Regions from separate parts of the Homo sapiens genome. Here region 2 is linked to region 1. Evidence: promoter capture Hi-C in 16 types of primary human blood cells and fetal thymus (Javierre and others, 2016). All regions are on one chromosome and are shown on one strand. Each heading gives the region's core, a stretch centred on a gene start or on the middle of the fragment in contact. The rest is flanking DNA. Distances are from core to core; before and after follow the strand shown. Region 1 holds the start of OXR1 (oxidation resistance 1). Region 2 overlaps EMC2 (ER membrane protein complex subunit 2).

Region 1 (2,974 bases), core at 251-2,750:
AGAAAAGACGTAGGGAAGTATGTTCCCCTTAATCCCTTCCCCGTGCCGCCCGTAGATCCCTGGATCTTCTTGTCACGGAGACAGGCTGCAGCCACACACGCGACCCCGGGCCGGAAACATGCACACGCGCGCGCACACACGCACACACACGCCCCGCTGCGAGTTGCACGCTGCAGACTTCTGCCTGACTTCCCGGCCAAAAACACCGCACCTCTGGGGCCAGACCACGAATTCCTGTGGCCTAGAACTGACACCACTCCCCCTACCCCCGCAATACACACATTCAGACCCTACACTGCACCCTGAGCGTGCCGGGAACCACTGAACGGAAGCCCGAGCAGCTCCCCCCGTAAACGACTACCTTCCCCACTGCCTAATGTCTATTTAAATCTCCTAAAGCTCGCCTACAGCGAGCCGAGGTGCGTCCAAGCCGGGTAGTAGACGGAGGAGGAGCCAGGGGTGAAAGTGAACCTCAGATAACAGTACTAAATCACTATTCAAGGGGCGGCACGGGGAAGCCTCCAACCCTCTCCTGAACCTTTCAGGCCCTACCAGCAGCCCAGTTCCTCCGCCCGATACTGCACAGCTCCCCCCCTCTTCACCCAAATCCCTCAGCGATTTTCCAGTCGGCCCTCCAGGCCACTTTCTACATCCATCCTTTCCCCAGCCAGTTCCCAACATGTGGCCTCGGGTACTCTAGCGGGAGACAGATTCCAGGCTGACTCCATCATGATGTGCCCCCTAGCCTTTTACTGATTCCCCAAATTATCCGAATCCACTCGCCCCTCCGGAGCCCACTGTCCCTTCCACCGGCGTCCTTTGCTCTCGTCCAAATCCGCTTTCCACGCGCCCCACTTTCCACCCATCCTCCTGCCGTTCTGTTCAAGACACGCTTGCCCTCCACTCTGCGCCCCCAACACTGCTCTCACGCTGCTCCCACTCTATCCCCCGGCGACACCCCCACTTTCCTTCTGCGGCTGTCCCTGGCCGGGCTCCCGCGCCCCAAACCCAGCCTCCCCGCCCGGTCTCCTCCCTCGCCGCCCGGTCTCCTCCCTCGCCGCGCGGTCTTTCCTTCTTCCCAAGTCCGCCCTCTGGGCCCCCGCTGGAGCTAGTTCTGCCCTCCTGCTCTGCCCGTCGTCCCCGCTCGAGCATCCCAATGGCCACCCGCTTTCAAATTGGCTAAGTGGCTCGGAGAGGCGCCAGGCACAGGGGGCAGAGGCCAGCCGGCTCTCCCGGGCGCCAGCCGCGCCTCTCGCTATCCCTCCTGGACTCCCCCGGGCGCCAAGCCCTCGCCCTAACGCCCAGCAGCCTCACAAACTTACTTGCGGGTCGCCAGGAGGGGGCTGCGGTGAGCGGCGGCGGGCCCCGCGGCGGCGAGTGCGCCCCTCTCGGCGGGGCTGGGCGGCGCGGCGCCGGCGCTGAGCTCCTGTGGCCGCGAGGTGAATGGGCTCAGCCTGACGCAGCCCAGCTCTAGCCCCGCTGCTGCCGGCGCCGCTGAGCGCTTGCAGACATGCTCAGTTTCCGGACCTGCCCGCGTGGAAGCTACCAAGAGCCGGCAGCGGCGGGGGAGACTGAGAGGAGCCGTGGGGCGCCGCGAGCCGGAGGCTACCACGCCGGGGGCGGGGGGAGGCACGCACCGCTAAAAATAGCTCCTGCGGAAGCCACGCTGGCTTAGCGCGCACCCCTCCCCGCGCGCGGCCCCTCTGGCTGGGGTTCGGGTTTCTGCTCTGGCTACCGCGGTGGGGACCCCAGCTCGCCGAGTCCTGCCAGGCGTCTGCCTGCACTAGGATCCCCATCCCGGTGGAGACGGCGCCTCCAGTTCAGGCGCCCACTCGAATAGCCTGGACTAAGCCAGAGCTGCCCCGATTTCGGGGTCCCGCCTGTCGGGCAGCTCTAATACTAGGCTCTCCCTAGAGAAGCAGAGGAAAGTTTTGTTAAAGCGATAAAAAAGCTTCTGCAAGGAAAGCTGCAAGGAAATTTGTTCAGATTTACGGAGGAAAAAAATGTTCTTCAGATGCTTTGGTTGCTGGGAAAAACAAGGAGGAAAGGAAGGCGAAGTCTGACAGCCTAGAAAGGGACCCAAGGCAGCTTGGAGCGGGCTGAAGGGGGTTCTGCAAAGAGCTTCTAAAATTCAGAATTCTTTGCAAGGCGTTTGTGACTCCTCATTCCGCAGTGTTTTGCATAATTCGTTGACACCCCACCCTGACCTTGGAGATTTTCTTGTTCCTGTCACCTGAACTGTAATTTACTTTCTCCGCATGCTGCCTTCACTCCTTCCCCCTCCAACCCGGTTTTAAATTGCAAAACGAAAAGGGCGCAAACTCTGGATGGGTAGATTCCCAGACCTGAACTGGAACCTGGCTGTTCTGTAACCCTGAGGAAAGGAGCTGGTCCTGTTGCCGAGTTCGGGATGTATCCCAGATCTCCTGTGCATCCAGCAAACACTTCAAGCGTAGGAGCCTTTCAGCCACCTCACCTGCAAATTAGCTATTTCCCGCTATTAGTGTTCACTCTATTCTACCTTAATTTCTGATCATTTATTATTATTTTTTAATTCTGTTCTTTAAAGTAAGAGGTACAGATATTTCCTGGGTCAAATTTCCGTCTTGTTTCACTCACCTCTCACAGCCACCCAATGAGAGAATCATTATTATTCCCATTTGACAGACAGGGATGTTGAAATTTAGCGACAGGAGCTCATCGCTTGTCTGGAATAATAGAGTGTTGAACCTAGGGTCGGCCAGACTAGAAACTTTCATGGTTTCCGCATAACCTATTTCCCCGAGTCAATAGCTTTACCTGAGATAAGGGATCAAGAAAATTAGATACTATTCTGAGTGGCGTGGCGTGTCAACAGTAAGCCGATTGATAAGCCGATTGCGGGTTTTGTTCTCCATTATTTTTACCTAATTTCTTTACGAGCATTCGCAGCTTAAATTTTCTGTTATGTTGAAACTGATAGCGTTTAATTTTT
Region 2 (2,842 bases), core at 27-2,526, 2.2 Mb before region 1:
ACAGAATGGAAGCAATACTCATTAGAATCCTTTGTAAATGCAACTTTGGTTTCAGTTTATACATACACTCAAAGATTCATGTATAGGTATACTTAATTGAGTATGAGTTAATTTGTAAAAGGTGTTTCTTATTGTGAAAAAACACTCATAGGAAAGAGAACTTTTTTTAAAGCATAACTTCTAAGAACGGCAGTCTGACACACAGTCACATATTAAAATATAATAGCTGAACACAAAACAAGAAACACTGTGTATGAAAATATAACTTACAAAACAAGCAACATTTTACCTATAAACACCTTAAGCTATACACCTTACATAGCTGACCCTGCCACACTCTTGAGTGCTGCTGTAATAAATACATTTGTAGCACTATTAACCACATACTACTTTTAGAAATGCCTTAAATACATTTATCTAAAAAAATTATTTGTAAAAATAAAACCATCTTGAAGAAAACATGTTTTCACCTTTGATAGCTCATTACCTCAAAATCACAGCATCCGAAAATCAAGTCATCTTCATTTCCTAAAAATATGGCCTCCCTTCCCAATGTTCACATTTCTGTTAATTCCACCTTCTGTTAATACTACCTGACATTCCATTTTTTAGTGCTGTTTCTGACTCCCACTGTGGGAGTTTTGTATATCTAAGTCCTGTGGATTGTTTTGAAGTATTTCGAAGTATTTCGAAGATTTACATCTTCTACTCTATTTCCACTGCTATTATCCATGCCCAGGCTTTCATCACCCCATGCTAAAATTGCTAGGATAGCTTCCAAACTGATCTCTCAACCCAAATTCAATCTGTAAATTACTACCAGATATTTCTAAAGATTTACTTCATTACAATGTAAATTCTTAAGATACCCAATGATTCCTACCTTCTTTGAGGCAGTATAGTGTATGACTGGAACTATACTTCATTATTCCACTAATATTTACTTCTTGGAGTAAATATTGGAGTTCTTCATCACTCAACTAATATTTCCTAAATGCCTATGTGCCAGGCCTGATCTGGGCACTGAGGATAAAGAAAGAAAGAAAAAGATAAAGTTCCTATATACTCATAATGCTTAGAGTATAATAGGGTAAAAAGATGAAAATCCACATAACTTCAGATAGTGAAATTATACAAATAAAACTAAAAGACCATATGATAAAGTCAGGAGATTGGGAGAAAGGAGGAGCTTTTGGAAAGGGTGGTCAGAGAAGGCTTCTCTAAAAAGGTCATTTTCAAGCTAAGAGAAGAATGATACTAAAACCTGTATCTAAGATACTAAAGAAATTATTTCAACGCTAGAAAAATGGCTTATAATCTTTTCTGACAATGTGTTAGTGTTTATTATTAATCTCATTAACAATTCATTTAGTCATCAAATAATTACTGAGCTCCGCCCCCATGTGTCAGGCTCTAGGGAAGTGACAGTGAAGAAACAGGCCTGGTCCCTTTCATCTTAGGAGAGACAAAATTTTAAAACAAAACACAATTGGGTAAGTGCTTCAATAGTATTAGAATAGAATACATAATCGAAGGATTGCAGGTGTGTTTTGTTGCTTCATTTTATTGTTTGGGTTTTTTTTTTCAATTTTGGTGGGGGATGAGGAAAGGGAAGGGGGTAGTAGAGTGGTCAAGTAAGGCTTTTTTGTAGTAGGTGAGCTTTGTGGGGAATTGATAAATGATAAAGTTTAATGGGGGCAAGAGTGAGGCAAGGAGGGAAGAACACTCCCAGTGGAAGGACTAGCATGTGCCAGCTTTAAGAAGCAGCATGGCAATTTAGGGTATTCAACAAAGGCCAGCATAGGCAGCTCACAAAGTGAGAGGGAGAAGGGCTCAAGATAAAGCTGGAGACATGGGCAACCGCCAGATCATACAGAGGAAGGACATAATCATATTAGCACTAGCTAATAGTAACACATCCTTTTATATAGTACTTAACAGTTTACAAAGCACTTTAAAATGTTTTCTTTGTTCCTACAAATTTGTGTAGTAGTTATTATTTATTATTCCAAATTAATTACATCAATCCTCTTTAGAATGACCACAGGGTAAGGTCCAATTACTCAGTTAAATCACCTTGTCTGTTGGTAGTATACAGCTACTCGTCCCTCAGGATTTTATATATGCTACTATCATCTAGGAAACCTATAATGAACATACCTTCATAATAGCATTTTCTAAAAATTATGTAATATTTAAAACATTTTTTAAAAAGCATTAAAAATAACATCCATTTATCTACGACTCAGCTTACGGAAGATACCCTGACACAAGCCTTTTAAAACTGTGTGTTTACAGGTTTGTTTTCTCCATTAGATTGTGACTTCCTTGGAAGTGGGGACTGTGTGTTGACAGAGCCAAGATTTTGCAGTAAGAAATCAACACTGTTGTTTAATATAATGGAATCCCTCAATTCAGGTATAAATACTGAGATTCACAACGTGCTAGAGGCCATAAAGTCAATAAATCATTTAATTCAGTTCAAGTACAAAGAAATTTTGCTTTATTTGTAACGGATTTACAACTTTATAATAACTGATATATTTATTCACGATAAAACAGAAAATACAACTTTCGGTCCACATGTTTTCAGGTCATTATTAAAACATCCCAAGAAGGCATTCGTTAAGCAAATTAGCTACTGAAGTCTCCTGTATTATGTTAAATGCTGGGAATATGAATTCCAATTACACAAATTCCACGCCTTAATGAAACTCAAGTTTCTTAAGCACACAGAATTGATCCAAGGTTTGGCTGTTCCCAGATTTAAAGAACATATCCCACTCTAGATCAACTAAGGATAGGGAAAAGTGACCATCACACGTAAGCACTTACGTAGCCC

Evidence for each region. Contacts are between HindIII fragments. The CHiCAGO score rates a contact against its expected background, and 5 or more counts as called.
Region 2: a contact is called between a fragment that was not itself captured here and the fragment with the promoter of OXR1 in region 1, in 1 of 17 cell types (naive CD4 T cells). The highest score is 7.1, in naive CD4 T cells.

Annotation. Positions count from the first base shown.
Region 1 is chr8:106,268,716-106,271,689 of GRCh38, reverse strand. It overlaps OXR1 (oxidation resistance 1), which reads right to left and starts at 1,500. Exons shown (of 17, transcript NM_001198533.2): 1 at 1,323-1,500. RefSeq lists silencers at 1,146-1,505, 1,526-1,775. The HindIII fragment of the contact is 2,469 bases long and covers 1-1,953 here.
Region 2 is chr8:108,444,343-108,447,184 of GRCh38, reverse strand. The region is part of intron 1 of EMC2 (ER membrane protein complex subunit 2); the gene reads right to left. Among named protein-coding and RNA genes, the nearest start is that of EMC2, 2.1 kb to the right of the region's middle. The HindIII fragment of the contact is 3,715 bases long and covers 1-2,842 here.